2 separate regions of the Homo sapiens genome follow, and region 1 is linked to region 2. Evidence: promoter capture Hi-C in 16 types of primary human blood cells and fetal thymus (Javierre and others, 2016). All regions are on one chromosome and are shown on one strand. Each heading gives the region's core, a stretch centred on a gene start or on the middle of the fragment in contact. The rest is flanking DNA. Distances are from core to core; before and after follow the strand shown.

Region 1 (5,108 bases), core at 1,377-3,876, 190 kb before region 2:
CTCCACAGTCTTTGATGGTACTTTCTTTTCTGTGTTATCAATTAAGAAAAAGGCAACAAAACCCAAATGTTCAAAGCAAATCATAGATTTCACAGCCAGTTCAGCTCCCAGCTAATAAATTATATGTGTGTTTACTGCCTGCCCAAATGAGTGGTGAAGCTGTCTAGAGCGCATCAGACTTTTCTGCCATTCCTGATGCTCCAGGCATGCTACGCTGATTTCACAGATTAGGTTTTTTTTGTTTTTGTTTTTTAAACAATGAGTTGGTTAAAAAAGAAAAACAATGTAAAAAATGTAAAATGTTTCGGCTGTGCACATACTGCTCCTCCTGGCCTCTGCCTGTGGCACAATGCCATGAGAGCCGGAGGAGCGGATCGCCATGCACAGACGCGACTCACAAGATGCGCCGGCTCCCCGGGCTCACCAAGGAGAAACGGGAGCCAGTCCCACGGAGCGACAGTCAGCAAAACCACCACACAGGGATGTGGAAAACTCATGACTCTACCCGCCCCAACCCACCACACACAGAACTTGCCCAGAACATTCTCTCAAACACAAAATGAGATCGAAGCTATACTACATCACAGCCAAGAAGCGGCTAGCTGCAGCAGCCAAAGATTTCTCTGGGTGATGAGGTGGCCTTTACTGCATGTCAAATGTTCACAATTTCAAGTTTTGGGGGTTTCAATTCAACATAGGTCACCAGAAAGTAACAATCTGTAACTAAGGTCCTTAGCACGTATGGAACACTCACCACAAAGAACCCTGCATGGGGTTTTGGTGTAAATGTAACTGCAGTATGAGAGCAGGTAAGGGGTGGGGTATGCACCCTTACCCCACTGTGTCTCGCATACGACCCCACACCCCAAATCCTTGGCTTCTTCAGTTAGCAAGAAAGTCACGAACCATAGTATCTTCCGTGATACTTTAGGGGAAAAGAAATCCTAAGAGAGAAAACACAGTATTTGGTGAGTCTTGAAAAGCACACCTCTGCGGTTCCTACTGGAAATGTACATGAGATTTTGCTGAATGGAGACCACCGCTGAGTCACCCAGGCTTCCCTCTCGCCTTCAGAAAGGCATCAAGCCACTGTAGGGTAAGAATGGATATCCCAGTTCTTGGAGAACAAAGCCTAAATGCTCCAAAGCTGAAGTCTCTGAAGAGCAGAAGTGGTTGTTGACACTGCAATGCTAGTAAGGTCATAGTGATATAACCGCAGTCGGAAGGAAAATTAACTGCAGTTAAGATGCAAAAAGCAGTGATACTTCTAAGACAAGCACATGCACACCCATTCTTGATTTGACAACACAATCTAGTCTATTTCAAATAGCCAAGAATTTAACAGCTGGGAAAAAAAATCTTTAACAGGATAGCTGTCCTCAACTCTAAAATAAGCAAGAAGAGAAAGATAATTATTACCAATCTGAATCAGTTAATTGAAGAGGAAACCTAAGTTGTTGTTTTAGATTAACAGGTCTCACTGAAGAGTAATTTTCCATCACATATCATTTTTAAACAATAATTTGTACTATTTTGCAGGTTTAGAGATGAGTTCGAGAAAAGAGCTCCTCTTCACTAGGGCCCACCCACTCGCCTCCGCCTTCTGAGCCTGTCTCTTCCGAGGTGGAGCTGGCGCTGGAGCACATCTTTCCGCGGAAGCCATCTGACTTTGCTCCAGAATCTCTCTCTCCTGTACATCTTGCTTCATAAACAGAAGACACCTAAGATTAAAACAATTTTCAACACATCAAAAAGACTTTTTTTTCCCCAAAAGGGTGAGATACTCTATCTATATACAAAGAAGAAATAATAAATCATCAGTGTTTTCCTGTGGAGTTACAAACATGCAGAGTTTTACTGTTTCAGAGCAAAACCGCCTCTCTTCTCTGATCCATGAAGGATCCAAAATCCTAATTCCACATGTTCAGTCACTTGGACAAAATGTTAGCCATGTTAGGGTAGGATAAAGAATTATTTCATTTTCAAAGTCTTTGAGTACCTGCTATGCACCAGGAACTTTACTGGGCACAGGGACTCCAGCAGTGGAAGGCGCATGCCAGGCTCGCTGGGGAGATGAACGAGCAAACCAACATGTGCCAGTTGCAGTGACACAGTACCGATGGTGAGGGGGGCACTGCAGACGGGTGTGTTGGGAAGGGAGTTTGCAGTGACACAGTACAGATGGTGAGGCGACACTACAGACCTGTGTGTTGGGAAGGGAGTTTGCAGTGACACAGTACAGATGGTGAGGGGACACTGCAGACCTCTGTGTTGGGAAGGGAGTTTGCAGTGACACAGTACAGATGGTGAGGGGACACTGCAGACCTCTGTGTTGGGAAGGGAGTTTGCAGTGACACAGTACAGATGGTGAGGCGACACTACAGACCTGTGTGTTGGGAAGGGAGTTTGCAGTGACACAGTACAGATGGTGAGGGGACACTGCAGACCTCTGTGTTGGGAAGGGAGTTTGCAGTGACACAGTACAGATGGTGAGGCGACACTACAGACCTGTGTGTTGGGAAGGGAGTTTGCAGTGACACAGTACAGATGGTGAGGGGGCACTGCAGACGGGTGTGTTGGGAAGGGAGTTTGCAGTGACACAGTACAGATGGTGAGGGGACACTGCAGACCTGTGTGTTGGGAAGGGAGTTTGCAGTGACACAGTACAGATGGTGAGGGGGGGCACTGCAGATGGGTGTGTTGGGAAGGGAGTTCTTTGGAGAAGAGGCCCGCTCAGCTGAGAAGCCAGCCATGCAGAGGTGCCAACACTCTGTGGTGTCGGACTGTCTCCCCTACACCAGATGGTCAGCATCTCTGGACCCCAGGACATGAGATGCAGTGGTGGCCCCTCCTCAGTCACAGTCATTACAAAGCTCCCCTCACCCTGCCATAGTAACTAGCAGCACTCCCACCTCATTTCCAAATGGCAGCATTGCCCCTGGTTGAGAACCCCTGAGGCAGAAGCACAGAAAAGCCACACAGAGTAAGGGGAGAGCAGAGACAGATGAGGTCAAAGGCAGACGGGGGCAAAACATACAGGGCTGTAGAGGCGTGGCGGGGAGTTTGGATCTGTCTCAAATGCAACAGCAAAGTGACATCATGGTTAGCAGTATGGGTCCTAGAGGCAGACTGCTGAGGTTCAGAGTTCAGGTCCACACTGAAGCTGTGGCTCTCTGGCCTCGGATACACGGCGCCTGATGTTTTTGTGCTTCACTTTCCTATTTTGCAGAACAGGCATGACAACAGTACCTACCTCACAGGGTCGTTGTGAGGACTGAACAAGATACTGCTCGTGAGGTCATTCTGTCTGCTGTGTGGAGAGAAGGCTGGAAAGGATGACGAAAGCAGGAAGGACAATGAAAAGACCATGGCAGCTGTTCAGGAGCAGGGACAGTGGCTTGAACAAAGTGGTAATGATGGAGAGGAGGAGAAGTGGGAGATGCGAAGTGGCTGACAGCGGGGAACGGTCAGGACTGGCAGGCAGACTGTGTGTGGAAGATGAGAGAGAGGACTGGGGAATATGTCTCAGTTTGGGGTTTGAGGCTGGAGGGATGATGTGAACTAGTCACTGAGGAGAGAGCTGGTGGGGGCCTCAAACATCTGCCTTCATGTGTGGAGCCGGACAGGTCAGTGGGCAGCAGGACGTGGACGATGATGCTACAGGTGCTTGGGCAGACAGTTCTCACAGGACTTGAATGGACACTGACAGATGGTTAATACTGAGTGTCAACTTGATCACATGCCGTGTGATTCAAGTTAACGGGAAACTACAACAGCCCAGTCCAGACAGGATACAAATGGCTCAGACTCTTTAGGAATGAAGGTTTAGGTCACTCCACCGGGAAAAAACCACAACCTGCTGAGGTGCTTGCTGAAGGCAAAGGGAATACAGAATGGGTAGTAGAAGAAGGTAGTCATCAATACCAGCTACGACCATGTGACCAGGTGCAGAAACCAGGACTGTAATTGTCTTGAGGAGTATTTCCTCCTTCGTTAAAAACACGTTTGTGCATGTATACACTTGTACTAAGAAAATCTCATTTTATTTTTTGTCCTTTATCATGTGACACAAGATTTATGTATGTATATATTTATGTATGTATGTATGTATGTATGTATGTATGTATGAATGAATGATGGAGTTTTGCTCTGTCACCCAGGCTGGAGTGCAGTGGTGCGATCTCAGCTCACTGCAATCTCTACCTCCTGGGTTCAAGCAATTCTCCAGCTTCAGCCTCCCAAGTAGCTGGGATTACAGGGGTGCACCATCACGCCCGGCTAATTTTTGTATTTTTAGTAGAGATGGGGTTTCGCCATGTTGGCCAGGCTGGTCTTGAACTCCTGACCTCAGGTGATCTGCCCACCTTGGCCTTCCAAAATGATGGGATTACAAGCGTGAGCCACAGCGCCCGGCTGACATAAGATTTATTGACTTCATATCAGCATTTAAGTATTGTTAACTCTATGTAATAGTACTTGGGTTTGGGATTGGTGCTTTTCCGGTTGTATGAAGCATAGCTGTATTATGTTAGGTATAATTATGACCTTATTGTCTTTATTTGAAGATTACATATAATTTCAGGAGATGTGTATGGGTTCAAATTGACAAGGGGTGGACTTGTTATGGTTAATACTGAGTGTCAACTTGATTGGATTAAAGGATGCAAAGTACTGATCCTGGGTGTGTCTGTGGGGGTGTTGCCAAAGGAGATTAACATTTGATCCAGTGGGCTGGGAAAGGCAGACCCACCCTTCATCTGGGTGGGCACCATCTAGTCAGCTGCCAGCGTGGCTAGAATATAAAGCAGGCAGAAAAATGTGAAAAGACTAGACTGGCCTAGCCTCCCAGCCTACATCTTCTCCCATGCTGGATGCTTCCTGCCCTCGAACATCGGACTCCAAGTTCTTCAGTTTTGGGACTGGGACTGGGACTGGCTCTCCTTCCTCCTCAGCTTGCAGATGGCCTATTGTGGGACCTTGTGATCGTGTGAGTTAATACTTAATAAACTCCCCTTTGTGTATATATATACCTATTCCATTAGTTCTGTCCCTCTGGAGAACCCTAATACACTGACAATTCACACCAAATAAAAAGAATTTTCCTTAGG
Region 2 (5,226 bases), core at 1,658-4,157:
CTTTGCTGTCAGGGCCAGGGCCAGCTGTGCATAGCAGACACATGGCATTCCTGGCCTTAAGAACTTGTGAGCTGCCTTCAGCTATCTGGCATGACATGAACTAACTTGTAATGTTTTTAGAGCGAATTGGAATTGTGCTCTGCGAGAGGGAGTTTCATTTTGAGTTTTTGCCGGGGGTTGTCTTTGGATTTGTAAAGTGCTTTACAGTGATGGTTGTTCTCAGGAAATGCATCCAGTCTTTGCTCTATTTTTTGTGCACTGCTAACTTCATGGGCCTCCCATCTCGTGCTGGCACTGAACTAGCTGCTTACACAAACAGGAACTCCTCAACACCACCAGACACGGCAGAGGCATCGCCCTGTTACAGATGAAGATGATAAGGCCCAGAGGGCCCAAGGGACCTGCCCTGAAGTCACACAGGGAGCCGGGGAAAGCCAGGGTTGAGCCCCAGGTGTGGAGCGAGCATGGAGCAAGCACCCTGAGCCCTGTTCTTCCTCTCTGCTTGGGTCCCAAGCTCTCAGGTCTTCTTTGAGAAGGCCAGGCCGGCAGGGCTCTCAGAGCCTGCCCATGTGATAGCAAAGCGTTCTCACTGTGGGACCAAGCGGGACCAGGATGCAGATCTGAACAGCAGCAGCAGGGTGTGCTGATGACCCAGCCCTGGGCCAGAGAGCTGTGTGTCCAGGTGGAAAGAAACACAATTAAAATTGGTAGAAACATATCATCTGACCAAGACACAACTGTGTGCATGAAGACCTTAGTGACAGCATGGTTTGCAATAGCAAAAGTAAGGCAGGGAAGTACAAATTCAATAGCAAACAAATAGTGGTATGGCCATGTCACAATACCCTGCGGCCATTTCAAGTGATGTTTACAAAGTTTGTAGGCAGACAGTCACCTCGTATTTACAAAGCTCCGACTGTGCGGGGCGCTGGGTTGGGCACGGAGCAGATAGGGCCAGAAGGCCAGCCCAGCCCAGCCCTGCCCTCAGGCGGACATTGTTCTCTGACTCCGGCTTTGCTGGGCTTCAGCAGCCTCCGGAGGGAGGGCTGAGAAGGGCACCCAGGGCCTCCCCGAGGTGATTCTAATGTAACACATTAGCTGGACCCCCAGCTTTGCCATTGCTTCTCAAAGTGTGTTCCCAGGACACCTGTGCCTGCCCCTCCCCACACCCCAGTATCTTGGATCAAAGTCCTCATGGGTTCAATTCTCATACTTTGATCATTATCAGAACACCCCGAGCCCCAAGCCCAAGTTCCCAGGATGGGGCTGGGGTGTTTAATGAACATCAGAGTTTGAGAATTTATGTTGTAATGTTAAGCTCAAAAAGAAATTACATTGCATGTAAATCTCACTCACAGCAATGTTCATATGGGGAAAAGGCTGGAAGGGAGAGGAAGCGTCTGTATTCCAGGGGGGATTTCTTCCCTCCATATTTATCTATTTTTACATTTTCTACCAAAAACAGAACTTTATTTTTAAAAGATATCTTTACAGAATTCACATTTAGAAAATAGAACTAGGCCAGGTGTCGGGGCTCACGCCTGTAATCACAGCACTTTGAGATGTCGAGGCTGACGCATTGCCTGAGCACAGGAGTTTGAGACCAGCCTGGGCAACATGGTGAGACCTTGTCTCTAAAAAAAATACAAAAATTAACCGGGTATGGTGACATGCACCTGTAGTCCCAGCTACTCGGTAGGCTGAGGTGGGAGGATCACCTGAGCCCAGGGAGGTCGAGGCTGCAGTGAGCCGTGATCCTGCCACTGCACTCCAGCCTGGGTGACAGAGTGACATCTTGTCTCAAAAAAAAAAAAAAAGAAAAGAAAAGAAAATAGAAGCAATATTCTGAAGTGTTTCATGTCTTTGAAGTGATTCTAGGGCTGAAAATTTCAGGCTTTCATTTTTGATTATCAGCATCTATGTGGGTTAGCCCCTTAGCAGGTAGGCAGAGTCTGGTGGGGCCCGAAGGGGAGGGGAAGGAAGGAAGAAAGTGGGGGAGTGAGAAAGAAGGAGAGGACAGGGGTCAAAGGGAAGGGGAAATGGAGAGGGTACGGCTTCTGTTCAGCCCAGCCGGAGGCTGCCCCGGGCGGAAGGAAGCTGGTCCTGGCCGCCCTGAGGGGCCTTCTGTGAGGCTCAGGCCGGTGGCTCCTCCCTGGCAGGGAGCCCAAGGGAGGTCCACAGCTCTGCGCAGACAGGTGCCAGGATGGAGCCTCCTCCCGTCCTTCCTGCCAGACCCACTAATACCAGGCAACAAGGGGCCTGGGAATGGGAGCAGGGAAAGCGGGCAAGTGGGAGGCAGAGCTGGGGCGTTTATGGCCGGCAGCCTTGGAGGACAGCCCCGAGGGCTCAAGGGCTTGGCAAGCTTGGCAAACTTGCAAATGGCAGCCCTGGATTGCATTCCGCCCCTGCCCCCACTGCACAGGTTTGAGTCCCACTCTCCCACCAGGCCTGTCACAAATACACTGGGGTCAACCCCATGTTTCAAGGATCAAGCTGACCACACCCTCTCCCTGCTCAGATGCTCCCGCCTCCCCTGCCTTTATGCCAGGGTGGGTCCGTTCCTTGGCTGGGCTTCCAGGGCATTTCAGGATCTGTCCCTCTTGCCTCTGAGCCCCTTGACCGCCGACCCCACCGCAGCTCTCAGCCCTCTGCCTGCCACGCCTTCCCCTTCTTCCCCAGCCCCCGCTGAGTCCAGCACTGCCGGCCTGGCTCACCTGCAGGAAGCCTGGTAGCTCCTTCTCCATCAGCACCTTGAGCTCCCCCTTGGTCAGGGTCTGCGTGCTGCCCTCGCTGCCCGAATATCGGGAAAAGACGTCTATGATCATGCCCATGGCTGTCTCTAGTTCCGTCATGGTGCTAGATTCAGACCCACCTTCCTCCTGGGGGCTGGCAGGGCCGAGAAAATGTCCCACTGGCAGCCTCTTGGTGCTTTATAAGGCAGCCTCATATTGACACAGAGGGTGGGACAGTGGGGTTGGGACATTCAGGAAGTCCTGCCCCTCCCCATTCATGTGCTCAGTTCTGATGAAATGCATCGTTGTGATGACGTTTCTGGAACCTTTCCCCCAGCCAAGGCCCAGGGTGTGGGCTGCCTCCAGGCATCCACATTTTACAGTGTTCACCTGTGTCTCGGCGCCATCACTGAGCCACAGTGGCATCCTCATTCCTGGCCCTCCCTGGGTAAGTGGGCACGGGGTGAGTGTGTGTGGAGTGAGTGGTGACTCCGTGGCCCTTTGTGTCAATATCAGAGCGTGCTGGCACCCAGCGTGCTGACACGAGGAGACATCTGAGAGTGAATTCACATGGGCGTGTTTGTGAACATGGATCTGCCCCATCGTCCCTTTCTTAGAGCACTCTGTGTCCTTCAGAGGCCCAGCTTCCACGTCAATCTCGCTCGCTCCTCCCCTGTGGGGCCAAACAGAAAACTCCCCTTCATCCTCTGGGAGTTTGCTGAAAATCAACGGGCAGAAGGCAGATGAATAGGAGAAGAGCATAACAGATGTATTTGATCATAGCTTATGTGGCACGGCAGCCTTCAAGATGAAGATCCAAAGATCTGGTGGAAACTATCCATAAACACAGTTCAGCGAAGTATGGAAATATGATTGGATACAAAAGTAAGGCTGGATGCTCACAGACCAAGAGGAGAGCCTGGTAGGGCCTGTTGAGTCAGATTCCCTGGGGCCTCTCTGAGCAGCTCTCCTTCCTTCTAGGTGTGGGGCAGGACTCTTTCTGGAATGGAGCTCTTATGACCTACAGTCAAATAAAGCAGGCCAGAGGGTTTCTTTAGGCTGGTTTCTACACAGAAAGGGGAGGGAGTGGAGAACTGGAGTCATATTTCTGGGTTTTATGGCAGGGTTTGGGGAAGCCTCTCAGAGGAGGAGGAGCTGGAGACAGGAGGGTGGGAGCAGGACAGAGAAACTTTTGTTTCTGAGGCTTCCACGTTGGGGTGTTGTTTTTTGAGCCCCGGCACTTACCAAACCCAAATCACCCACAGGGCTTAGACGGCACAAAGGCTCCTGGGACTCTGGGCAGAGTCAGGGACAGTCACACCCCTCCCCGTCTCTATAGCGGAGGTACTCAGAGGGTCTGTGCTTGGGAGGCTGAGCGAGTCCTGGAGAGCATGGAGGTAGGGGCCTGTGTTCACATCCTGCCCCGGTCAAAGTAGGCCCACACTCAAAGGCCTCTCTCTCAGCAGAGATCTTCCAGAGTGTCAGCCTCCAGCAAGTTCCCTAACCTCTCCCAACACAGCCTCCACCAGCACATGGGCCGAGACTCTCCCCACGGGGCTGTGGCTCAACATAGAAAAACCTTGGTGCACGATGGCAGCAGCAGGTCTCACAAGAGCCGGCTTTCTCAGAACACACTGCCTCTGCCCAGGTGTCCTGCAGTGGAGGCTCAGACTGGCCCCACTGGTGACCCCTTGGGGAGCAGGGACAGGTCCATTCTGCTCACTCCTGAGCTGGGCAGTTCCCTCTTGGGATAAGGTCGCACAGCACAGGCCACCATCATACCACCCCAGCCAGAGAAGTGGGAGAGAGAAGGAGGCTCCCTACCCCAGAGGCAGTGCTCCTCAGGAAGGGCATTCACTGCGTTATATAGATATATATATACACACACACACACACACATATATATACACATATATACACATATATGTATACACACATATATACACACACACATATATACACACACACATATGTATATACACACACATATATATATAGATATACACACACATATATTTTTTGTTTGTTTGTTTGTTTGTTTGCGATGGAGTCTCACTCTGTTGCCCAGGCTGGAGTGCAGTGGTGTGATCTCGGCTCACTGCAACTTCCACTTCCCGGTTTCAAGTGATTCTCCAGCCTCAGCCTCCCGAGTAGCTGGGACTACAGGCATGTACCACCACACCAGGCTAATTTTTTGGGGGTTTCACCATGTTGGCCAGTCCGGTCATCACTTTGTTTTAAAATTTTTATTTATTTATTTATTTTTATTTATTTTTTGAGACGGAGTCTCGCTCTATCACCCAGGCTGGAGTGCAGTGGCACGATCTTGGCTCACTGCAACCCCTGCCTCCTGGTTCAAGTGATTCTCCTGCTTCAGCCTCCTGAGTAGCTGGGATTATAGGCATGCACCACCTTGTCTAGCTAATTTTTGTATTTTTAGTAAAGATGGGGTTTTACCATGTTGGCCAGGCTGGTCTTGAACTCCTAACCTCAA

The links. Contacts are between HindIII fragments. The CHiCAGO score rates a contact against its expected background, and 5 or more counts as called.
Region 1: a contact is called between a fragment that was not itself captured here and the fragment with the promoter of S100P in region 2, in 8 of 17 cell types (naive CD8 T cells, total CD4 T cells, total CD8 T cells and 5 more). The highest score is 12.2, in naive CD8 T cells.

The regions. Positions count from the first base shown.
Region 1 is chr4:6,877,400-6,882,507 of GRCh38, reverse strand. KIAA0232 reads right to left here. Exons shown (of 10, transcript NM_014743.3): 10 at 1-1,721. The coding sequence ends at 1,542. Among named protein-coding and RNA genes, the nearest start is that of TBC1D14, 30 kb to the left of the region's middle. The HindIII fragment of the contact is 7,029 bases long and covers 1-5,108 here.
Region 2 is chr4:6,691,559-6,696,784 of GRCh38, reverse strand. It overlaps S100P (S100 calcium binding protein P), which reads right to left and starts at 2,907. Exons shown (of 2, transcript NM_005980.3): 1 at 2,715-2,907. The coding sequence starts at 2,852. RefSeq lists enhancers at 1-701, 1,904-2,639, 2,640-3,376, 3,686-4,223. The HindIII fragment of the contact is 13,149 bases long and covers 2,365-5,226 here.